Linked DNA regions of Homo sapiens: regions 2, 3, 4 and 5 are each linked to region 1. The links are contacts of gene promoters, found by promoter capture Hi-C in blood cells and fetal thymus (Javierre and others, 2016). All regions are on one chromosome and are shown on one strand. The core of a region is centred on a gene start or on the middle of the fragment in contact, and the rest is flanking DNA. Distances in the headings are between cores, read along the strand shown. Region 1 holds the start of JHY (junctional cadherin complex regulator). Region 2 has its middle 59 kb from the start of LINC02727. Region 3 has its middle 47 kb from the start of UBASH3B. Region 4 has its middle 30 kb from the start of TRK-TTT2-1. Region 5 has its middle 42 kb from the start of CLMP.

Region 1 (4,723 bases), core at 1,384-3,883:
ATGGGCAATATAAATATGGTCCGTAGTTATTCATGGATAGAGTAAAACAGGTTCAGGGGCTATGTTTTGGAAAGTAAAGTAAGAAGAAAGAAGAGTGTAGTTTTCCATAGTTGGAACTGTAAATGGGGAAGCTGTTTTGTTCCTAGACCTATATGGGCTGGCAACATCATTTGGAAAAGACTTTCTGATAGCCAGGTTGTGACTAGATAGGAACATATAATTTAGGTGGACATAAATGGAGATCAACCTCATCCGGTATTTTTTAAAACCCATAATAACGATTAAAACTGTTCAACAATCACGCCTGTAATACCAGCACTTTGGGAGGCCAAGGTGGGCAGATCGCTTAAGTCCAGGAGTTCAAGACCACCCCGGGCAACATGGCAAAACCCCATCTCTACAAAAAAAAAAAAAAAATACAAAAAATTAGTGGGCATGGTGGGATGGGCCTGTAGTCCCAGCTACTCGGGAGACTGCGGTGGGAGGAGGGTCACTCGAGCCGGGCAGGCAGAGGCTGCAGTGAGCTGGAGTGCCACTGCACTCCAGCCTGGGTAACAGAACGTGACCCTATCAGAAAAAATAAATAAAACTGTTCAACAAAAGATTTAGTGGTCTTGTGAATTCTGCCACTGAGCGATCCAAAGCAGAGCCTGGAGGTCTACATTACCGAACGGGATGCTATCCTGGGGAAAGTTGAGTGGGTGGGAGATTGGCCTGAATTACAGCTAAGAGTTAGCTGGAGTCCCTTCCAACTCACTTACGAGTGTGATTCAAGTGAACCTGCACTGTCTGTAAGGGTCATTATAAAGAGCCATGGAAAGGGTGCTTTGAGTTCATGTAGGACCGAACGGACATGATGTTTTTGGATTGTGCTTCCTTTCATCTCTACCTAGCATTTCTATTTTGGTCTATTTTCTATCTCACTGCCTTTATACCCATTTTTTTTTTTTCTGTGAGTCAGGTAACAGAAACCTTTACCATTAGAAATTGCTGTAAAATTTGTCTTAATGGCTTGCTCTTGTTCTTTTGGCAAATCCTAACTTTAATTAAATGACACAACCTTATTACTATTCCTAGGATTGCTTATAATGTTGACCTTGTTGCTAATGTTTGCAAGGAGCATCATCAAATCCTTGGAGGAAAGCACCTTAACAAACAACAGGCAAAAGGGAACGTTCATATGTAAATACACACGAAGTGAGTTTTCTATTGAACTCGAAGTCTGCCCTGTTGGTAGACTAACATATTATTCTCTAATATTACAGACTGGTTTGTTGTATTATTTTGTCTCTTATTTTTAAAATACATATTGCATTCTGCCTTATTATTTTAATTGTTGCTTTTTTAGGATGTGCCAAGAAAGCAGCAAATCTATCAAATACTAACACATTTTAAGTAAAAGAGATTGTTTAACACCGGTTTTACTGGAGGAGCTAAGGTCACTGAATTTGAGATCCTGAAGAGCAAGCTTAAGCGTTATAGTGCAACTTAGAATTACTCTTAAAATAATTCAGTCCCTTGAACTTCTCTTCTTAAATGAAATAGGCTAAGCTTTCTTGGAATGAATAAAAAATAAAACAGTAACCACAGAAGATAATTTTGCTGATGTTAGCAGATTCCTGAAGTTTGCTAAAGTATGCAAAGAGCAAAGCCAAACGCCACAAAAGCTGGGTTTTCTGTGGAGGCCTGATCTTACCAAAACATGGGGTGGAAGAAGGAACAGCTGACAGCTTGAATAAGTTAGAAAGTGGGCGTTTAAATTTCATGAATGTGGCTCCCTCCTCCCGTCCAGTGAAAAAAAAAAAAGGTTGTGCCGCTGAAATTTCTGACCAAGAGAGGTGACTAGTCTCCTGAATAAACAAGACAGCGATAGATCCGATGGCACCTAGGGACTAAGAAGCGGCCAGCTCCCCAGGGATCCCTGCAGTGGGTCTAGTCCACTAGCATGGGACAATCGAACTTTCTCCTGGAGGGGAAAAGGAACCCTGCTTGGGCTCACCAAGATGAATCGTAAAGAAAAAGGAACGAACCCTGGTTTGAAACAGGCCGGAAGCTGCCCAGGGGAGGCGTTCGGTTTTCTACCTTTGCTTGTTCCTGAGGAACAAGGCCTGTCACAAGGGGCGTTTGGAGGTCCAGGAAGTGACAAGTCGGCGGGCCTGGTGCCCGGGACCGGTCCTAATTGACCGGGAACAGGGCTGCTCTGGGTGCCCGGGCGCCGAAGCCTCGCATGGCGGCCCCCCAGCCCCTTGTCGCGGCCTCGCCCCCTTGTCGCTCCCCACTCCGTCCCGAAGGCTCCCGCGCCGGCTCCTCCCCAGCTTGCTTGGGTGGTTTCCTGCCGTCCCCATCCCCAGTAAGCCCTTCCCGTTTCCCTCCCCGGGCGCGCCGCCCACCCCAGATCCGGGAGGCCACCGCCCGTCACCTGCCCGGCGCTCCTCCGCGGCCGCGACCCGGACGGGCCCCGCATCCTCCCGCGCCGCCGCCGCCGCCGCCCGGGCCCCCGCCCGCCCCGGCGCTGCCCTGGAGACCGCAGACAACACAGACGCCGGCGCCACATGGGCGGGGCAGGACCCGACCTAGGATCCCGCGTCCCGAACCGCACCCCCGGCCCTGGCACGGAGGCTGCAAACGGCCGTAATAACGACATCGGGGCAGAGCCGGAGGAGCCCGAACGCCCCGGGAGAGGCTGCCTCGCCGCCCGGACTTCCCAGCGCCGGAGGGCAGAGGCCACCCGGGGGAGGAGATCTTTGCCACAAATAAAACTACTAAAATACGCGAGGAACTGCTACAAATCAAGAAGAAAAGGAACCCAATTAAATAATGGGTAAATGGAAAGGTATTTCACAAACACACGAGAAATCTAAATGGCCAATAAATATCTGTTTATTGAAATGATGCTTTAATTCATTAATAATCAGAAGAAGGCCAATTAAAACCACAGCGGATAATACCACACTCACCATAAGTTGAGTCGAAAAGTCCAAAGTTGAAACGTCTGGCAGCGTCAGGTGCTAGGGAGGACGTAGTGCAAAGAACCGTCACCTTCTGCGGGCGGACGTGAGAACCGATGCAACCAACCATTTTGGAAAATGGTTTGACATTAGCCAGGATATGTATGCCTTGGGATCCAGCAATTTCACTTTTAGGTATTTACCCTAAGAAGTGCGTGCTCCTGTGCATGCAAACTGGAAATAACTGAACTATCCATCAAAAGAATGGTTAATTAGATTATGCTATTGCCTATACTGGCATACTACATAGCACTGTAAATGAATGAAATACAACTATGTGTAACAATATGGAGGCATACTAAAAACACAATTTTGAACAACAACAAAAACCCAGAAAAAGTACATACTGTATGATTTTTGTATATAAAAAACAGGCTAAATTACACTCTACAGTGATTGTGGCTCCATACTTAGTGGAGGAAACTATGAAAAAAAGCAAAAAAGCAATTTTATGGGAAACACTACCCACTTAGTGATTCCCATCAAGTTAGGATTGTGGTCGGTTCTGGCAGGTAGGGAGAAGAATGTTTTTGAGACTGTATTTCCTGACCTTAATGATGGTTATATAGATGTTCATCTTGTAAAAATTCATTAAGCTGTACATTTATGTATGGGTAGAATATTTCACTATCAAAAAAGGTTTCAAAAAAGAATAAAGAAAGGAAGCATTAGGAATTATCTTCACATTAAAACAACAAGTAGATTTGAATAACTACCTTCAAAGATTGGTTTGAGGCCAGGTGCAGTGGCTCACCCTGTAATCCCAGCATTTTGGGAAACCGAGCTGGAGGATTGCTTGAGCCCAAGAGTTCAAGACCAGCCTGGGGAAAATGGCAAAACCTTGTCTCTACGAAAATTTTTAACAATTAGTTGAGCGTAGTGGCGCGTGCCTATAGTCCGAGCTACTTGGAAGGCTGAGGTGGGAGGATCACCTGAGCCCAGGAGGTTGAGGCTGAAGTCAGCCAATATTGTGCCACTGCACTCCAGCCTGGGTGAGAGTGAGACCTTGTCAAAAAAAAAAAAAAAAAAAAAAGAGAATTCTTCGGCCAGGCACAGTGGCTCATGCCTGTAATCCCAGCACTTTCGGAGGCCTAGGCGAGTGGATCACCTGAGGTCAGGAGTTCAAGACCAGCCTGGCCAACATGGCAAAACCCCGTCTCTACTAAAAATACAAAAATCAGCTGGGCGTGGTGGTGCACGCCTGTAGTCCCAGCTACATGGGAGGCTGAGGCAGGAGAACTGCTTGAACCGGGGAGGCAGAGGTTGCAGTGAGCTGAGATGTGCCACTGCAATCCAGCCTGGGTGACAGAGCGAGACTCCATCTCAAAAAAATAAAATAAAATAAAAAAAGAATGCTTCAATACCAGTTGCCTCATTAATGATAGGAAACACAGGAAATTGGAAAATGTCTTTACTACCCAGCTTTAGCACTTTTTATTCTGTTTTTTATTTGAGTTAGTTTTTTTTTTTTTTTTTTTTTTTTTACTTTTTTGGCAGCAGGGACCTTGTCTTATGAGTACACAGTAGGACCTCAATGTCTGTAGAAGAAATAAAAGCAACGTAGCTGAAACCATTAGTGTTATTCTGCCCAGTATATTATACAAGGTATTATTATAGCAACTGCAAACATGCAAGCAAATTTCAAGCAAAAGGATTTAGTCCTAATAGTGGCTTCCAGAATATGTTATAGAATCAATGCTGAGTCATTCACACTT
Region 2 (4,572 bases), core at 1,790-4,289, 370 kb before region 1:
TGGTGCTACATAAAATGCTTGTTTCTGTTCCTATTGATCCACCTGGGGACCTCAGGCAAGCCCAGCCTTCCTGAGCCTTAGTTTCCACATCAGGAAAAGAGGCCCATCTGTTGCCATACCTCATAGAGTTTTTATGAAGACAAACTGAGATCCACATGTGGGAAAGCTTTGGAAATTACTTCGTATTATTTTCAAAGTATTTTCTAGCTTTTTTCTAATTAAATGGATCACACAAAGATAGCAGAATTCATTTTTGCTAAATTCGGAGAGCGTTTGGGACAGTCAGGTTTAAAATATAGGTCACAAGGTAATAAATAACATTCACTCCAGAAAGCACAGGGGACCTCTCAAAGAACTAAATAACTCTCCTCCTGAGCAACAGAAGCTGAAAAACAATGAGCGGTCATAGCAACTGCTATACCCAGGGTGTCGTAGACACAAATATGCCACACAGAGAGAAAACAAGCAGGGGTTTTAATATGGGCACCAAGAGGAGAAGAGAAAAGAATTACAAGTGTTGATCTGCAATGAATTAATGAATTTAATGAATTTAGTTTTCACGTGATGGTTAATGTTTCTTTTTTTTCTTTCTTTTTTTTTTTTTTTGAGACAGAGTTTTGCTCTTGTTGCCCAGGCTGGAGTGCAGTGGCACGATCTCGGCTCACCGCAAGCTCCACCTTGGTCAAGCGATTCTCCTGCCTCAGCCTCCCCAGTAGCTGGGATTACAGGCATGTGCCACCACACCTGGCTAATTTTGTATTTTTAGTAGAGATGGGGTTTCTCCATGTTGGTCAGGCTGGTCTCGAACCCCTGACCTCAGATGATCCACCCACCTCGGCCTCCCAAAGTATTGGGATTGCAGGCGTGAGCCACCGTGCCCAGCCAATGGTTAATGTTTCTTTCCAGCACCTCTGGGCAGGCCAGCTCACAGGGATGAATTTAACCCTGCTATGGATTTGGATGGATAGGCCTCGTGATCGGACTAGAGATTTTTCAACATTATGAGACTCTGATGAATAAAATCCTTTCCCCCTTCATTTCAGTTTGATTCCTCTCATGAGCCAGGATGGGGACTAGGAGGGTGACTCTCTTCAGTTCAACATGAAAAAGCAGAGTTGAAAGGGGTGCTTTGTGCCCAGGTTTTGCACTGAGACCTCAGCCTGTGCAAAGTGGAAATCCTCTTCCATCCCCCTGAGCCTGCTTCTCTCCTGTGGGAATGCGGATCAGTTCCCAATCTTGGTGGGAACTTCACGGAGGCCACGATGCATGCCGCTGTCCTAATGAGAAATCTGGGCACTCTCGCCTTACCCCATACTTCCAATCCATTAACAAGTTCAGAAGCTCCTTCTACCTCGTAAAGATATTTCTCACATCCAATTTCTGCTCTCCTGCCCTTAGTTTTTTTGTTTTGTTTTGTTTTGTTTTTTTGAGACAGAGTCTGGCTCTCTGTTGCCCAGGCTGGAGTGCAGTGGCACGATCTCAGCTCACTGCAACCTCTGCCTCCCGGCTAGCTGGGATGACGAGCATGCACCACCATGCCCTGCTCATTTGTGTGCGTGTGTATCTTTAGTAGAGACGGGGTTTTGTCATGTTGGCCAGGCTGGTCTCGAACTCTTGACCTGAAGTGATCCCTTTTATCATTTTGTACTCTCCAAAGGCACTCCCACCCCCAGTCTTTCTATCCTCTCACTCAAATCCACTAGATAATGCATCTTCTGAGAAGATGTCTCAGGCCTAAGTTCCTCTGAGACCTCATTTTGATTCCCTACCTACTTGCTCAGATAATCACTGCAATTGCGCAGATGTTAGGTGAAACCCTTCAATTAACTGCCTTTCATTCCAAGAGTCAGGACATTTCAAATGGGTGGAGCAAGAGTTCCTGCAGTTGTCATGGCAACGACAGCCAGCCGGAGGCCCCGCGTTCTCCTCTGCCAACCCCCACACACAACGTTCACACCCTTCACCCAATAGGTCCTAATCCGTGATGGTTTCTTTGACAGTTTTCAGCCAAAAGTCCGGTGGTAGTGACAGACTTGGAAGTGAATAATACCAGGATAAAGAGCAGAGGTTATATAACTCTGGGTAAAACAGGCCCCTCTCATTAGTACAAAGTTTGAGACTCAAGCAAGAATTCACTGCTTTACTGAGAGTTATCTGGCAAAGAGACAGGGACATTGGTGGTTTTTGCTCTCCTTAACCCCTTTAAGCTAAACTCACTGATGCCCCATCTCCCACCAGCTGTTTTCTCCACCTTCCATTTCCCTGAATAAATCTGTGTCTAGCTGGAGGTTTACCCACAGACTCAGGCCTGCCTGGGCCAGGACAAGGGTCAAAGTCAAAGTGCAGGAGAGGCCAGGTGCAGTGGCTCACACCTGTAATCCCAGCACTTTGGGAGGCCGAGGCGGGCAGATCACTTGAGGTCAGGTGTTCGAGACCAGCCTGGCCAACATGGTGAAACCCCGTCTCTTCTAAAAATACAAAAATTAGCTGGGCATAGTGGCAGGCTTCTGTAATCCTACCTACTTGGGGGGCTGAGGCAGAAGAATTGCTTGAACCTGGGAGGCAGAGGTTGCAGTGAGCCAAGATCGTACCACTGCATTCTAGCTTGGGTGACAGAGTGAGCCTTCGTCTCAAAAAAAAAAAAAAAACCATCCTAGCTAACACAGTGAAACCCCGTCTCTACTAAAAATACAAAAAAATTAGCCGGGCATGGTGGTGGGCGCCTGTAGTCCCAGCTACTCGGGCGGCTGAGGCAGGAGAATGGCGTGAACCCAGGAGGCAGAGCTTGCAGTGAGCCAAGATTGTGCCACTGCACTCCAGCCTGGGTGACAGAGCAAGACTCCGTCTCAAAAAAAAAAAAAAGTATTGTTTAGAGGAAAAGACAGATATGAAAAGAGGTTGAGGATCTAGCTGGAAGGGGCAGGAACCATCAGAGTGAAGTTTCCACATTTGGGACCATCACTACTTGATACTTTTCCTATATGCAGACTTGTTTAATCTTCATAACAACGTAGTCAAATAGTTATATCTCCATTTAACAGAAGAAATAACCGAGGAAGAGAGGTTAAATCACTTGCCAAGCCACATAGCTATTAAGTGGCAGACCTGGGTCTCAAACAAGAGTCTTCATTTCCAAATCCTTGGGTTGCCTTCATCAACCACACCATTCTGCCTGCAACACATTCATAGGCACCCACTCAGCTTAACTCCATCTGTCCAGAAATCTGTGCCCATGCCCTTGGTCTGCATTTCCACCCTCATGTTCCCAGACACACCTCACCAATGATCATCATTTTCCCTTGCCACACATAGGCAATGCAGATTTGTTAGGCAGAAACAGACCAAAGCCAGCCCAGCATGGTGGCTCATACCTGTAATCCCAGTGCCTTGAGAGGCCGAAGTGGGACGGTTGCTTGAGGCCAAAAGTTTGAGACCAGCCTGGGCAACACAGCAAGACCCCATCTCAACAGAAAAATTTAAAACTTAGCCAGGTGTGGTGGTGCATTCCTATAGACCCAGCTACTCCTGAGTCTGGGATGGGAAAATTGAGCCTGGAAGTTCCAGGTTACAGTGAGCTACGATCATGCTACTGCACTCCAGCCTGGACAACAGAGTGAGACCCTGTCTCTAAAAATAAATAAATAAGTAGATGTTGATATTTTCAAATCTAAAAAATAAAATAAAGAAAGAGACCAAAGCGTTCTCCAAGGGTTTTGTTTTGTTTTATGTTTTTAACCACCAAAGTCTAGAATGAAGAAAAGACACCCACAATAAGCATGATATTATAAACAATTTGGCCAACGAATAAACCAGCCTCCTTCTGACGGGTGAGCCCTCTGCTCAGAAGGAAAGCTGGCTTACCATCTGTCCTGTGCTTGTGAAACCTGAGCTGCTTGCCATGACCCAAATAGAAGCCTCTGGAAACCCTGTAGTTCTTTCTGCCCACAAGAAATGAAGTCAGAAAAGAGATTGCAACTGGGGGGAGAGAGAAGGAGAGACAGAGGAAGACAGAGAGAAAAAAAGGAGGAAAGAAGAAATAAGGAAGAAAGGGAGGGAGGGAGGGAGAAAGGGAGTGTCTTAGTCCATTCATACTGCTATCACAAAATATCAGACACTGAGCGGCTTATACACAACAGGTATTTATTTCTCACAGTCCTGGAGTCTGGGAAGTCCAAGAGCAAGGCAAGGTGCTGGCAATTCAATTCCTAGAGAGAGAGCTCTCTTCCTGACTTGCAGACAGCAGCCTTCTTGCTGTGTCCTTACATGGCGGAGAGAAAGAGAGCTCTGGTCTCCTCCTTCCTTTTATAAAAACATGAATTCCATCATGGGGCTCCACCCTCATGACTGCCTCTAAACCTCCTGAAGGTCCTTCTTCCAAATACCAACACGTTAGAGGTTGGGGCTTTCAACATATGAATTCTAGGGGATGCGGGGCACAGATATCCAGTTCATAACAAGGAGGTGGGGAACAGGGAGGGAAGGAAGGAGGGCGGTGGTATTATGTTAAAACCCAAAGTAAGAATCTGAGTACTTACCTTCTACTGTTCAGTACCATCAACTTCCGCTAGAGGT
Region 3 (5,264 bases), core at 2,222-4,721, 280 kb after region 1:
TTTTGTGGCTTGGTGGCTCATTTCTTTTCATTACCGAATAATATTCCATTATATGAATGTACCACAGTTGATCCATTCAGCTATTGAAGAACATCTTCGTTGCTTCTAATTTTTGGCAATTATAAGTAAAACTGCTATAAACATTTATGTTTGGGATTTTGTGTGAACATAGTTTTCGGCTAATTTGGGTAAACACCTAGGAGCTTGATTATTGGATCATATGGTAAGAAAATATTTAGCTTTCTAAGAAACTGCCAAACTGTTTTCCAAAGTAGCTGCAATGTTTTCTAATCCTACCAGCAATGAAGGAGAGTTCCTGTTGCTCCATTATGGGTATTTTAATTGGATTAGCATTAAATTTATAGATTAATTTAGGAGTAATTGAACATTTCATTATATTTATTGGTATTATCCAAGAATAGGGTAGATCTTCCAAATTATGAAATCTTCATTTATACTCCAAGTACCTTTTTTTTTTTTTTTTTTTTTTTTTGAGATGGAGTCTCACTCTGTTCCCCAGCCTGGAGTGCAGTGACTTGATCTCAGCTCACTGCAACCTCCACCTCCCAGGTTCAAGCAATTATCCTGCCTCAGCCTCCCGAGTAGCTGGGACTACAGGTGTGCACCACCACATCTGGCTAATTTTTTTTTTTTTTTTTTTTTTGGTAGAGACAGGGTTTCGACGTGTTGGCCAGTCTAGTCTTGAACTCCCGATCTCAGATGATCTGCCCACCTCGGCCTCCCAAAGTGCTGGGATTATAGGCGTGAACCACTGCACCTGGCCCCATGTAGCATTTAAAGTTTTCTCTAAGCAGTGTTGGGAGATAATTCTCCAGGGGGCCCTCCTGTTTCTGCATGTCTTGTGTTTTTCTGCCTTTGTTCTAGACTATCTTTTCAAGGACGTAGTGTAGCAAACAGACTTAAAAGATAGAGTTAGCATCTCTCTTAGTGGCAGAGGGCAGGCATGTTTAAGGTCTAGTATAAAATATTCAGATTCCCTGAACTCAGGCCTCTCGTCCTGTAGTGCAGACCACTGCAGGTGCAGGTGTCACCTGGCCCTCTTTTGCCCTGCCTTGCAGAAACTAGAGCTTAGGAAATTGTCACAAGAAAATGCTAATAGTCTGACTACTGTTATTACTGTAACAAAATCCTTTGTTTCTGATGAAGGAGTCTTATGTCTCTGCCAACATCCATGAAACTGTGGCAGACTAAATTTTTAGCTTGCAAGTAGGGAAAGATGATTTTTACTTAGTAGGAAGAAAATATGTTGTTTAGTAGGAAAAAATATGTTGTTGTTGTTTCCATATAATGGAACTATTCTTATTATTTTAAAAGTCTATTTTTAAACTTGAGATGGAGTTTTGCTTTGGTTGCCCAGGCTGGAGTGCAATGGTGCGATCTCAGCTTACTGCAACCTTCGCCTCCCAGGTTCAAGCGATTCTCCTGTCTCAGCCTCCCGAGTAGCTGAGATTACAGGTGCATGCCACCACGCCCGGCTAATTTTCGTATTTTTAGTAGAGACAGGATTTCATCATATTGGTCAGGCTGGTCTCAAACTCCTGACCTCAGGTGATCTGCCCACCTCGGCCTCCCAAAGTGCTGGGATTACAGGCGTGAGCCACTGCGCCTGGCCTGACATTTATTATTATTAAAAGTCTATTTTTTGTTACATAGTCACCTTACTAAATTCTCTTATTACTTCCAATAGTTTTATAGTTAGTTGTCTGTACATAATCATATTAGCTGCAATAAATAACTTGGCTTCTTTCTTTCCAGTATATCTCTTTCTTTTTTCTGTCTTGACCAGTACTTCCAGATATATGCTAAATAGAAGTAACGATAATTAAAAAACTTGTCTAGTTTCTGACTTTAATTGAATTGTTTATCACACTTCACCATTTATCCTGACACTAGGCTTTGGCTTAAGAATTTATATAGCTACAAAAATATGTATAGATAGGCACGGCTGTATGTGCTTGTATTAAGGGAGAATTATTTAAAAATCAAGGAGGAAGGTTTAATTTTTTTTTTTTTTTTTTTAGACAGAGTCTCACTCCATCATCCAGGCTAGAGTGCAGTGGCACCGTCTAGGCTTACTGCAAACTCCGCCTTCCCGGTTCAGGCGAGTCTGGTGCCTCAGCCTCCTGAGTAGCTGGAATTACAGGTGTGTGCCACCATACCCAGCTAATTTTTGTATTTAGTAGAGATGGGGTTTCACCATGTTGGCCAGGCTGGTCTCAAACTCTTGACCTCAAGTGATCTGCCTGTCTTGGCCTCCCAAGTGCTGGGATTACAGGCATGAGCCACCATGCCCAGCTGATGTTTAATTTTATCAAATGATTTTATAGCATCTCTGGATATACAATTTTATTTATGTTTTTACTTTGATCAATTAATAGGCTAAGTTAGTAAATTATGTAAATAGATTCCTTAATATTTAGCTGTTCTTTCCAGGTTCAAATCTATTTTGTTCTGGTATATTATTTTTTAATAAGTTTCTGAATTATATTTATTAATACTTTTTATTTATTATTCTGCACTCATATTCATAAATTATTCCATAAAGTGTGATGTTATTGTGATATATTTATTAAATGTGGTATCAATAAATAATGAATCTATGGAAAGAATTTGGAAACTTTCTTTTTTAATGTTCTGGAATAGTTTACTGATATTGGAAGTTTCTGTTTTTCAAACATTTGTAGTTGTTTGCTTCTAGTGCTTTTCATTAATTTATTTATTTGAATTTTTAAAAATTGTAAGCTTATGAGGTGTATATACATATTTTTTTGTTTTGTTTTGTTTTTGAGACAGAGTCTTGCTCTGTTGCCTAGGCTAGAGTGCAATGGCATGATCTCAGCTCACTGTAACCTCTGCCTCCCGGGTTCAAGCAATTCTCCTGCCTCAGCCTCCCCCAGTAGCTGGGACTATGGGTGTGCACCACCACGCTTGGCTAATTTTTGTATTTTTAGTAGAGACAGAGTTTCGCCATGTTGACAAGTCTGGTCTTGAACTCCTGACCTCAGGTGATCTCCCCACCTTGGCCTCCCAAAGTGTTGGGATTACAGGCATGAGCCACCATGCCTGGCAGAGGTATATGTATTTTTGAGGTACAGGGTGATGTTATGATTTGTAAATACAATGTGGGATCATTCAATCAAGCTAACATATCCATCACCTCAAATTCTTACCATTTTTTTGTGGTGAGAATATTTGAAATTTACTCTTTCGGCAATTTTGAAGTGTGCAATACACTATTATTAACTGTATTCATCATGCTATGCAATGGATCTAAAAAAAAAACCCTTATTCTTCCTGAGATTTTGTACCCTTTGACCATCAACTCCCCATTCCTCACGTACCCCAGCCTCTATAACCACCATTCTACTCTCTGCTTCTTTGAGTTTGATTGTTTTAGGTTCCATATATAAGTGAGAACACGTGGTATTATTTTTCTGTGCCTGGCTCACTTCACATAGCATAAGGTGCTCTAATTCTATCCATGTTGTCTCAAATAACAGGATTCCCTTCTTTTAAAGTCCAAATAGTATTCCATTGTGTATATGTCCACATTTTCTTTATCCATTTATCTATTGATGGGACACTAAGTTTGATCCCATAACTTGGCTATTGGGAATAGTGCTGCAATGAACATGTTTTGTTTTTGTTTCTCTTTGTGTGTGTGTGTGTGTGTGTGTGTGTGGTTTTTTTTTTTAGCTAGAGTCTCTAGAGTCTCTGTCACCCAGGCTGGAGTGCAGTGGCGCAATCTTGCCTCACTGCAACCTCCACCTCTTGGCCTCAAGCCATCCTTCCACCTCAGCCTCCCGAGTAGCTGGGACTACAGGCATATGCCACTATGCCAGGCTCATTTTTGTGTTTTTTTGTAGAGAGAGGGTTTTTCTATGTTCCCCAGGCTGGTCTCAAACTCCTAGGCTCAAGCAATCCACCTACCTGGGCCTCCTGAAGTGTTAGAATTACAGGTGTGAGCCATCACGCCCAGCAATGCAATGACTATGGGAGTGCAGGCAAACTGATTTCAAATCTTTTGGGTAAATACCCAGAAGTGGGATTGCTGGATCATTTGGTAACTCTGTGTTTTTTGAGGAATCTGCATATAGTTTAATGGCTATCCTAATTTACATTCCCACTCATCTACTGCTTTTTAAATGGGAAGCTTTGATAAAATTTTAAATATTTTCTATTGTCTTTTAACTTCTTTTAAGCCACTTATACCTTGTTTCATTTTCATTAGTGCTTGGCTATATGTTAACTTGTACATAGTTAAAATGTTTCATACAGGCTGGGCACAGTGGCTCATGCCTATAATTCCAGCACTGTTACACCTGATGGGTTCTTTTTTGCCCACTGCCCACAAAAATCAATGCACTGAGAACAGCAGATATTGTGGCAAAGAAAGAGTTTCATAACTGCAGGGCCAGCCAAGCCAAAGGATAGGAGGTATTTCCCAAATCTGCCTCTCCGAGATTTTGGAGGCTAGAGTTTTTCAGGGTACTTTGATAAGCAGGGAGCTCAGGAACTGAAACAATTGATTGTCTGGAGATGAAATCACAAGGGTGTCTACACTGTCTTTGTGTAGTTGACTCAGTTCCTGGGATGGGGTCTCAGGATCAGTAGCATCTCTTGGTCTGTTGAAATGTTAAATCTGAAAAATATCTCAAAGACCAGTTCTTTATTTCACAATAGTGATGTTATCTATAGGAGTAGTTGGGGAAATTATAAATTTTGTGACCACCCCCCGCCAGTTATGTGACTCCAGAGCAGCAAACAACGTACGGAAAAGCAAGCTACGAAATGATAGGTCATTGTTTAACTAAGCCTATTCTTTACCAAAGTTCAAGCCCCTACCATAATTCTTATTTATTTATTTTTTATTTTTTGAGACACGATAGGTCGTTGTTTAACTATACTTATTCTTTACCAAAGTTCAAGCCCTACCATAATTCTTCTTATTTATTTATTTTTTATTTTTTGAGACAGAGTCTCACTCTGTTGCCCAGGCTGGAGTGCAGTGGCGCAATCTTGGCTCACTGCAGTCTCCACCTCCCAGGTTCAAGCGGTTCTCCTGCCTCAGGCTCCCGAGTAGCCGGGAGCTAATCTAGTAGACTAGGGCACAGAGACTCAGGAAAAAAAGTTCCCATGGCTCATTAGCCATATCGAAACTCACAAAGTCAGAAGATCACAGGAGTTGTAAAGGATCATAGAGGTCATGAAGGACAACCTCTATGACATTTCTGATGGATGCT
Region 4 (4,846 bases), core at 1,158-3,657, 290 kb after region 1:
TCCTGTTTCACATGAACCCTTTAAAACATTTAATTACTTTTTATTTTTAGCAAAGTAATACATATCCATAGTTTAAAAAAATCGAATGATTCTAAAAATATTGTGTCAAAAAGACCAGTCCCCACATGAAAAAGAAAATAAAGACCAACTCCCATTTCCATCCTTCCTTCCCCAAGAGTCCTGCCTATGCCAGGGAAGAAGCTCATTGAACTCTTTCAACTGCTTTTCTATTATTTACATCCGTATTTCTTTTCTTTTCTTTTTTTTTTTTTTTGAGATGGAGTCTTGCTCTGTCGCCAGGCTGGAGTGCAGTGGCGGGATCTCGGCTCACTGCAACCTCCGCCTCCCAGGTTCAAGCGATTCTCCTGCCTCCATCTCCCAAGTAGCTAGGATTACAGGTGCCCACTGCCACACCCAGCTAATTATTATATTTTCAGTAGAGACAGGGTTTCACCATGTTGGCCAGGATGGTCTCAAACTCCTGGCCTCAAGTGATCCACCTGCCTCGGCCTCCCAAAGTGCTGGAATTACAGGCATGAGCTACTGCACCTGGCTGTCTATTACTTGATATACCACTTTTACATAGGATCCATTGAGTTCCATAAATGTTTGATGAAGTCCTCTGTCAAACCTCTAGGTCTGGAGTTCATACTTAAAAAATAAACTTTGACTCCTTCAGTGGTAATTGATCTGTTCAATGACCCATTTGTTATTAAGCTAATTTAGGTAATTAATCTTTTCACAGGAAGTCAACCATTTCATACAGTTTCCCAAAATTGTACGCATAGTCTTGAGCAAAGTAGTTCTATGATACCTTTAATTTCTTCTGTAAGGGTGAAGATTTTTCTCCAGTGATATGTCTAATTTTGTATATTTGTTGCTCACTTAATAAACAAATCAAGTTAGCTAAATGTTTTTGGTGGTGATGTTTTTCAAAGAACCAGGTCTTAGGTTTATTTATCAATTCTATAATTTTTCCCCATTTTATAATTTATTAATTCTTGTTTTCATTTTTTATAAATAATATCTTCTTCTGCTCCTATGTGACATTTTCATTATTGTTATTTTAAAGTGTTTTGTAATTTAGTTATAGTTTCTTCTTTGACCCAAGAGTTAAGAGGATAGGATTTTTTTTCCCTCCTTAGTGTTTTCTGTGATTTATTTTCCCATTTCTTTTTTTCCTTATTTTGTAGTGTATCTTTAATAGAGCATCTATTGGTTTCTTTTTCTTTCTTCTTTTTACTTACCAGTCATCTTTGAATGAGATAAAGTATTCTGATACCAACTATATGAAAGATGAAGTGTGCCCTGTTTCAGGCAGGTTTTCCTTAGAACCCCATGTTGTATTCGAGTGGGTTCTTTCAATGTTAAGTTTCCATAATCAACAGATTAGCAGCTGCAAGCCTGTTTACTGAGTCTCTTCCCTCTATTTTATACAAGTATTTTCAGGTTTTCTTTTTTCTTTTTTGAGACGGAGTTTCGCTCTTGTTGCCCAGGCAGGAGTGCAATGGCTCCATCTCGGCTCACTGCAACCTCCGCCTCCTGGGTTCAATCAATTCTCCTACCTCAGCCTCCCGAGTAGCTGGGATTACAAGCATGCTCAGCTAATTTTTTGTATTTTTAGTAGAGACAGGGTTTCACCATGTTGGCCAGGCTGGTCTCGAACTCCTGACCTCAGTGATGTGCCTGCCTCGGCCTCCCAAAGTGCTGGGATTACAGGAGTGAGCCACCATGCCCGGCCTTCAGGTTTTCTTTTATTAAAAATACTTCACATTCTCTAGTTACCTTTGGATAATTTCCAAGAAGAAAAGAGGGAAATGCATCTTTACTCTAGACCATGTTATAACCAGAAGTCCTGATTTCCTTTATCATTAAAAACAAAAACAAAAACAAAAACAAAAAAACTGGCCAGTGCTTTAGTAATTCTATTGAATTCGTAGCTGTTTACTATGTTCTGAGCACCAGGCCTAGGACTGAGAGCAAGTCAAGAAAGATTAAAACAAAGTATTTTTTATTTTATTTATTTGAGATGGAGTTTCGCTCTTGTTGAGTGGGCTGGAGCGCAACGGCGTGATCTCGGCTCACCGCAACCTCTGCCTCCCGTGTTCAAGCAATTCTCCTGCCTCAGCATCCTGAGTAACTGGGATTACAGGCATGCACCACCATGCCCAGCTAATTTTGTATTTTTAGTAGAGACGGGGTTTCTCTATGTTGGTCAGGCTAGTCTCGAACTCCTGACTGCAGGTGATCCACTCGCCTTGGCTTCCCAAAGTACTGGGATTACAGGCTTGAGCCACCGTGCCCAACCTTTTTTCTTTTCTTTTTTTTTTTGAGATGGAGTCTTGCCAGGCTGGAGTGCAGTGGTGTGATCTCAGCTCGCTGCAACCTCCGCCACCTAGGTTCAAGTGATTCTCCTGCCTCAGCCTCCCGAGTGGCTGGGATTACAGGCGCGTGCCACCATGCCTAGCTAATTTTTGTATGTGTAGTAGAGATGGCGTTTCACCATGTTGGCCAGGATGGGCTCGATTTCTTGACTTCATGATCCGCCCGCCTCAGCCTCCCAAAGTGCTGGGATTGCAGGCGTGAGCCACGATGCCTGGCCAGTATCTTTTATTTTAAGAAGACACTAAAAGTCTAGAGGAGAAGATGGACAGATATTGTAATGTTGGCACAAGTCAACGCTGTGGAAGATCAGAAGAGGGAGAGATTGGCTCTGGTGAGGAGTTCAGAGAAGACATCTCAGAAGGGATATTTGAGCCTGGCCTCCAAGGATCAGCACAATATTTATAAGAATAGGTAGGAAAATGAAGGGAGCAGTGGAAGGCAGTAATTTGCATCCTGAATGCATATCAATATCACTTGGTGCTTAGATAACAGCCAGGGGTGCTAGTTCTGGGTAAGATGGGGTAAACATTTTTTACCCTTCCTCCCATACTGAACATGTCTAAAACCTTGGACATGATGCATGGAATGGCTGTTTAAGGACTCTGAAAACTAAGTAGTGATGGGTGAATTGGGGATGAAGACTAGAATTCGAAGCACCATTGAACCTGCAGTGAATTTGCTATTTTTTTTCTTCCAGTATTCTCTGTCCTGAACACAACATAGCCTCAAGCCCAAAAGTGAGCACGGGACTGCAGAAAGAATTTCAGGAGAAGCATCCTAGTTCTGGTTTGAGGAGCAGGCAACTTAACCAGAGAATGAAGAAATTCCCCCCTGCTTTTTTCTCATCCCTGTTCTCTCAAATTCTAGCACTCAAGTAATCCTGTTTTGGTAATAGCAGCAGCAACAGGAGTCTGTAGAGCCAAAACACTGAGCAAGCAGGACTTTCTTTGGCTGGTGGAGTTGTGGTTCCATGAGGGTGAGGCAAACCCCCATTGCCTTTTTTTCCTCTCTGTTTTCTACTGTTTGCCCAAGATGTAAGCACAGTCACAGAAATATGCAGCTGAGTTAGGTAATTAAACAGCTTGCTTGCTTTCTCTCTCCTTTCTTTCCTTCTTTCTTTCTTTCTTTCTTTCTTTCTTTCTTTCATTTTCTTTTCTTTCTTCTTTTTCTTTTTTTTGGAGTCTCACTCTGTCACCCAGGCTGGAGTGCAGTGGCATGATCTCGGCTCACTGCAACATCCGCCTTACGGGTTCAAGCAATTCTTCTGCCTCAGCCTCCCAAGTAGCTTGGATTACAGGCACCCACCACCATGCCCGGCTAATTTTTTGTATTTTTAGTAGAGATGGGGTTTCACCATGTTGGCCAGGCTGGTCTTGAACTCTTGACCTCAAGTGATCCACCTGCCTCAGTCTCCCAAAATGCTGGGATTACAGGCGTGAGCCACGGCGTCCAGCCTAAACTGCTGGCTTTCTGATCGGTGACTGAGAGCCCAAGAAAACCAGAAAGGACTGGAGAAATCATGGAAAGAGAAAACTTCAGAAGATGACCCCACAAAGTTATTTATGAAGTCCAGGGCTCATTTCCTAGGTGCACATGCATGTTTTTGATCCTAATTAGCACACCAAAGATTTTGAGAATTGAACTAACAGATAAGCCATTGCCCAGGTCTCAGTCACAAAGCAGCCCAAATTATACTAAAGGCTTTGAAAACAGAAACGACATAGGAACCGTAGCCCACAAAGGGCAGATTGGAACTTGTGACCTGAGCCCAACTGGTTTGATTGCCTACAAAAACAAAGATGTCAACTTTCTCCACTTTATTTAAGCAAGACTCAGAGCCTGATAACATAATATCCAAAATGTCGAGGATATAATTTAAAAGTACCTGCTGTGTGAAGAACCAGGAAAATCTCAATGCACAAGGAAAAGACAACAGATGTCAATGCTGAGATGCTGAGAACACAGATGTTGGCATTATCTGACAAAGACTTTAGAGCAGCTTTTACAAAATTGCTTTGACAGCAATCATGGACACTCTTGAAATGAATGAGAAAATAAAAACCCTCTGAAAAGAAATAGAAGACATAACAGGTGCCAAATAGAAATTTTAGAACTGAAAAATATAATAAATGAATTTTAAAAACACTGGATAGATTCAATAGCAGAATGGAGATGATGAATAAAAGAGTCAATAAACGTGAAGATAGATCAATAGAAATTATACAATATGAACAACATAGAGAAAAACATGAAAAAAAAGAACAGAGCTTCAGGGACTTGTGGGACAAGAATAGTCTAACATTTATGTCATTGGTGTCTTAGAAAGACAGAGAAAAAAGTATAGCTTGAAAAAATGTTTGACTTATTAATGGCTGGAAACTTCCCAAATTTGGTGAAGGATGTAAATCTACAGATTCAAGAAACTCAGCCTCAAACACGATAAACCCAAAGAAATGCACAT
Region 5 (4,904 bases), core at 950-3,449, 360 kb before region 1:
CACCTAGAATCTCCTGCAAATGTTTCAGAAGTATTCAATTCTAACCTGAAACCTCTAAGAAAGAGAACAATTTCAAGGCCAAGCAAGAGTCATCTGACTTGGCAACTTGGAACCTGGAAGAAGCTGGTGATGCCATCCTCCTGCCAGATTCCATTTCTGCTGAGACCTGCTAAGTGAGAGACACCCGGTCAATTTGCAGGATATTAAAAGCGGTAGACACAGTCACACTGTGAGGGGCACTGCGACTCCCAGAATTGAGTCAGTGTATTATTCATGAGCCATCTTCTAATTTTTTCTGGTTATAAAACCCACAAAAACCAGTCTGCGGCAGAAGCAGCTATTTTATGCTGCCATTTAAAAATCTGTCTGAAATCGTACATGTGTCTTATTTTAAAAGTTCCCAAAATGTTACAGCAACACACCGAATTCAGCTCTTGAGCTTGCTAAAATCTCCTTCCTACACAGTTCTCCTCATTGTCTCCGTGATCTATAGGAATTCAACAGCCCAGGCAACGTCTCCCTGATGAGTCAGGCCTGGAAGGAAAGGATGCATAGGACTCCTCTCCCTGGGAGCATGGTGACTCCCTGGCTGTGTCACCTCTACAGAAGGAAACATTCATCTCTTCTAATGACTGAATGGAAGGCAAAACCAGCCATAGATGAAAATGAATTCAAACGCTGAGGAGTCAATTGCCGGGTGACATGTGCGGTTCTCTTACTGTGTGAGGAGAAGCAAGGAGTGCTGTGTCTAGCGAGTGAGGGCTCTACAGATACTTGTTAAATGCATGAATTAGTGAATGAAGTCACAGGTCTCTACAAACCAGGTGCCAAATTGAAATGGAGAAAGAGGCGTTCATAATAACAGACGCTACCATGACTGAGGATTCCTATGTGCCAATCACTCCCCTGCGCCTCTGGAGTATGGACTATTATTCTCCCCATTGTACAGAGGAAGAGAGAAATCATTTATTCACTTGCTTGGCTTGACCTAGTAAGAGGCAAAAGTTGGATCTGAATGGAGGCATTCTCACTCTAGAACCCAAGCTCCTTATGCTCTACAGCCAGATTTACAAAACATTAAGGACATATATTCACTCATTCATGCATCCTGCCCTCAGGATGGCTTGGAGTCGAGTGGGGGCAGGCCAATGGTTGTGCCCATGATTGTGGCACAATGTGAGGAGTGCTATGAGAGACGTCAGCCTGGCAGTCAGTAGGAGGACAGAGGAGGTTAGACCAAGCTTCCTGGAGGAGTAGTGGTCTAGTGAATTTTGAAGCATAAATGTAAGTTAGGATTGGAGAAGAAGGGTGTGGTAGATTTTCTGCAAACATTTCCACAATTCTTCACTCCTTCCCGTATCCTTGCCCATTGCAATTGACTTTGCAGCTCTTCTCATGAAAAGATACAGTCAGTTCCTCCAGGCCTTGAATCTTGCAACTTCCTTTGACCAGTAGAGTACAGTGGAAGTGATAACATGCCAGTTCCAAGCCCAGGCCTCCAGAGGCCTCTCATGTTTCTACTTTCTTTCTCTTGAACTTTGCCACAGACATGTGAAAAACCTGGGTGAGCCTGTTGGGTGATGACAGACCATGTGATCCAGTTACCCTTGCCATGTCAGCCAACAGCCCACCCACCGCTGAGTGAAGTCATATTACAGCAGCCAGCTCCCAGGCCAAACCACCATATGACTGCAGAGACCTAAGTGAGCTCCATCAGAGTTAGCCAAGCCTGGCCCAGTTTAGCAGAACTGCCCAACTGACTCTGGACTCATGAGCAAAAGTTTATTGTTGTATGTTGCCTAGGTTCTGTGGTTGGTGGTTATATAGCAGTATTATCATAATAGAGTTTGGCAGATCCTCTTTTATAAGGCTAAAAGCAGTGTGGTACAAGCTTCACTATAATCCTACTATACTTCACTTGCTTTAGAAAAGAATTGGGCCAGATGCAGTAGTTCATGTCTGTGATCCCAGCACTGTGGGAGGCCAAGGAGGGAGGATTGTCTGTGGCCAGGAGTTCAAGACCAGCCTGGGAAACATAGCAAGACCTTGTCTCTACAAATTTTAAAAAAAGAAAATTGAATTGGTCCAGAACAGAGTTTCTCAAACATGGCACTATTGACATTTTGGGCCAGATTATTATTGTTGAGGGAGGCTGTTCTTTGCAAGGTAAGATGTTTAGCAGCATCCATGACCCCTACTCACTAGATACACCAGTAGGTGCCAATAGCACCCCTAATTGTAACACCAAAAAAGTCTCCAGACATTGCCAGGTGTCCTCTAGGGAGCCAGATTGCCCTCAGTTGGTCCAGAAACCAATGCAAAGACGTTAGTTAACAAATACCCAAAGCCCAGCAATCTTTCCTACAAGATAGTTCCATTGGTGGACCAAGCTCAGGCCCTGTGCAAGTACAATGCCTTTTGTGGGAACGTGAAGTTGGATTGGCCAGAGCCAGGTGGGGTTCACCAGGGAGGCTTCTCTGAGTCATTCTAGCTCATGCTAAAGCTTGCTGTGAGTGTGGCAGGTGCTGACTGAGCACACTGTGTGCTGTGTCCATACAACAAAGTTCAAATGAAAAGAGTAAAGTAAAATGCAGAACCTGGCTGAGTGCAGTGGCTCATGCCTGTAATCCCAGCACTTTGGGAGGCCAAGGCGGGCAGATCACCTGAGGTCAGGAGTTCGAGACCAGCCTGCCCAACATGGCGAAACCCCATCTCTACTAAAAATACAAAAAATTAGCTGGGCGTGGTGGCGAGCACCGGTAATCCCAGCTACTTGAGAGGCTGAGGCAGGAGAATCACTTGAACCCAGGAGGCGGAGGTTGTGTGAGCTGAGATTGCACCATTGCACTCCAGCCTGGAGTGCAACAAGAGCGAAACTCCATCTCAAAAAAAAAAAAAAAAAAAAGAAAGAAAAAGGAAAAGAAAAGAAATGCAGAAATGATGCAGATCTTTTCAGGTGGCAGAAGTTACAGGCCACCAAGCAGATCAAACCACTTGTTTCAAGGGTTTCTCCCAGTTTCCGTCTGACTTAACTCTTTTTCCCACTTCACTGCTTTCCATATCAAGACTCTTGTGAAAAAGAGCAATTTCGTCATCACTTTCCCATACACACCTGAATATTCTACATGAGGATTCCAATTGCAACTCTTCTATTTTATGAGAGTTTCTTTTGGAACTAAGAAAGATGGTTAATATTTCTTCTATTGCAAAACTGAAGTTTAAATCAACATCTCTAATCATACTTGCACATCCCAGGAGCTAATTCCACCTCATGAGAGAATGTCGGATCTGGGTCTTAGAATAAGTTGCCTTTTCTTGTTTGTTTAAGATAGGATCTCACTCTGTAGCCCAAGCTGGAGCACAGTGGTGCAAACATGGCTCACTGTAGCCTCGACCTTCTGGGCTCAAGCAATCCTCCAGCCTCAGCCTCTGGAACAACTGGGATTACAGGGATGCACCATCACACCTGGCTAATTTTTATTTATTTATTTATTTATTTATTTATTTATTTATTTATTTATTTATTGAGACAGAGTTTCATTCTTATTGCCCAGGCTGGAGTAAAATGGCGCAATCTCGGCTCACTGCAACCTCTGCCTCCTGGGTTCAAGCAATTCTCCAGCCTCAGCCTCCTAAGTAGCTGGGATTATAGGCATGCGCCACCATGTGCAGCTGATTTTGTATTTTTAGTAGAGATGGGATTTCTTCATGTTGGTCAGGCTGGTCTCGAACTCCTGACCTCAGGTGATCTGCCCGCCTCAGCCTCCCGGTATGCTGGGATTACAGGCGTGAGCCATCGCACCCAGCCTACTTTTTTATTTTTTATAAAGACAGTCTTGCCATGTTGCCCAGGCTGGTCTTGAACTCCTGGGTTCAAGCAATCCTCCTGCTTCAACCTCCCGAAGTGCTGGGATTACAGGCATGGTCCACTGCGCCCTGCCCATTTGTTTTTTCTTAACACTAGACGGCATCATCAGCCCATTCACTGGTTCCGGCAGATGGAAAGCAGTGAAAGAAAGTTCAGCATTTGCTGACTTCTAACTCACCCACTGACCCACACGTTTTATTGATAAGCATATTTGAGACGTGTCCTTTGGGACTTTAAGCAAATTGCTTAACATCTCCAGGCTTTCGTTTTCTTCTGAGTAAAAACAAAACTTACTTTTCCTGCTGTACAGAAAAAACTGATGGGTTAAACCACAAATATGTGTTTCACAAATTCATAGAAACTAAAGAGAACATCCATTAGAAAAAAGGACAAATCAAAGTTGAAGCTATCTTGAATTCTAAATTCTCAGCATCTCACAGGCCACTGTGTTTTCCTGATTTATTTAGCTTCCCAGTGGAACTGTGCCCAGTGGTGCATTTTGGAGGAGTGCTTCAGGAGAAAAAGCTGAAGTCATAGATTCTTAGCGTCTCAGTGCCGGACGCAGCCCGACTTTACGAAAATGGACTATTAATTCACTTTCTGTAATTGAATTGCTATTTTTCCTGCAGAAATTTGTGGTGATGGTTCGGCCTTGTGAATACATAGGCAGATTATGGTGGAGAACAGAGAAAAAGTTTTGAGAATTCAGGTGAGTTTGCCAGAAGGTTATTTTGGGAATTCACATCAAATCTGGATGTTGGGTATGACAAATTAGTCATAGGTTTCAACAAGTGTGAATCTTTTTGGCAGAACAAGAAATGCAAAGGTAGTCTCCACCGACTGGTGGGAAGGGAACGCTCCGAAATGCACACTTAGAGATCGTCAAGTATCAGCTGAAGGCTGGGGGAGGCAGTCCCTGTGTGCCCTGACCCCACGGCTCCATCCACGACCAGCAGGAGTCACTCAAGAGCACTTGGCACGCTGCCAGGCCCAGATCGCACAGAAGGCTACCCATGTTCAATTTGGAAAGAAAAGA

The links. The method cuts DNA at HindIII sites, captures the fragments that hold promoters and counts their contacts. A CHiCAGO score of 5 or more calls a contact.
Region 2: a contact is called between a fragment that was not itself captured here and the fragment with the promoter of JHY in region 1, in 2 of 17 cell types (naive CD4 T cells and total CD4 T cells). The highest score is 5.4, in naive CD4 T cells.
Region 3: a contact is called between a fragment that was not itself captured here and the fragment with the promoter of JHY in region 1, in 3 of 17 cell types (naive CD8 T cells, non-activated CD4 T cells and total CD8 T cells). The highest score is 6.2, in naive CD8 T cells.
Region 4: a fragment that was not itself captured here is called in contact with the fragment with the promoter of JHY in region 1 in 11 of 17 cell types (naive CD8 T cells, megakaryocytes, activated CD4 T cells and 8 more); the score reaches 10.2 in naive CD8 T cells.
Region 5: a fragment that was not itself captured here is called in contact with the fragment with the promoter of JHY in region 1 in 4 of 17 cell types (naive CD8 T cells, naive CD4 T cells, total CD8 T cells and 1 more); the score reaches 6.7 in naive CD8 T cells.

Annotation. Positions count from the first base shown.
Region 1 is chr11:122,880,669-122,885,391 of GRCh38, reverse strand. It overlaps JHY (junctional cadherin complex regulator), which reads right to left and starts at 2,633. Exons shown (of 9, transcript NM_024806.4): 1 at 2,420-2,633. RefSeq lists a silencer at 2,155-2,514. The HindIII fragment of the contact is 12,251 bases long and covers 1,554-4,723 here.
Region 2 is chr11:123,253,410-123,257,981 of GRCh38, reverse strand. No RefSeq gene overlaps it. Among named protein-coding and RNA genes, the nearest start is that of LINC02727, 59 kb to the left of the region's middle. The HindIII fragment of the contact is 5,741 bases long and covers 169-4,572 here.
Region 3 is chr11:122,605,876-122,611,139 of GRCh38, reverse strand. No RefSeq gene overlaps it. Among named protein-coding and RNA genes, the nearest start is that of UBASH3B, 47 kb to the left of the region's middle. The HindIII fragment of the contact is 1,411 bases long and covers 2,766-4,176 here.
Region 4 is chr11:122,587,938-122,592,783 of GRCh38, reverse strand. No RefSeq gene overlaps it. Among named protein-coding and RNA genes, the nearest start is that of TRK-TTT2-1, 30 kb to the right of the region's middle. The HindIII fragment of the contact is 8,114 bases long and covers 1-4,846 here.
Region 5 is chr11:123,235,213-123,240,116 of GRCh38, reverse strand. No RefSeq gene overlaps it. Among named protein-coding and RNA genes, the nearest start is that of CLMP, 42 kb to the right of the region's middle. The HindIII fragment of the contact is 612 bases long and covers 1,894-2,505 here.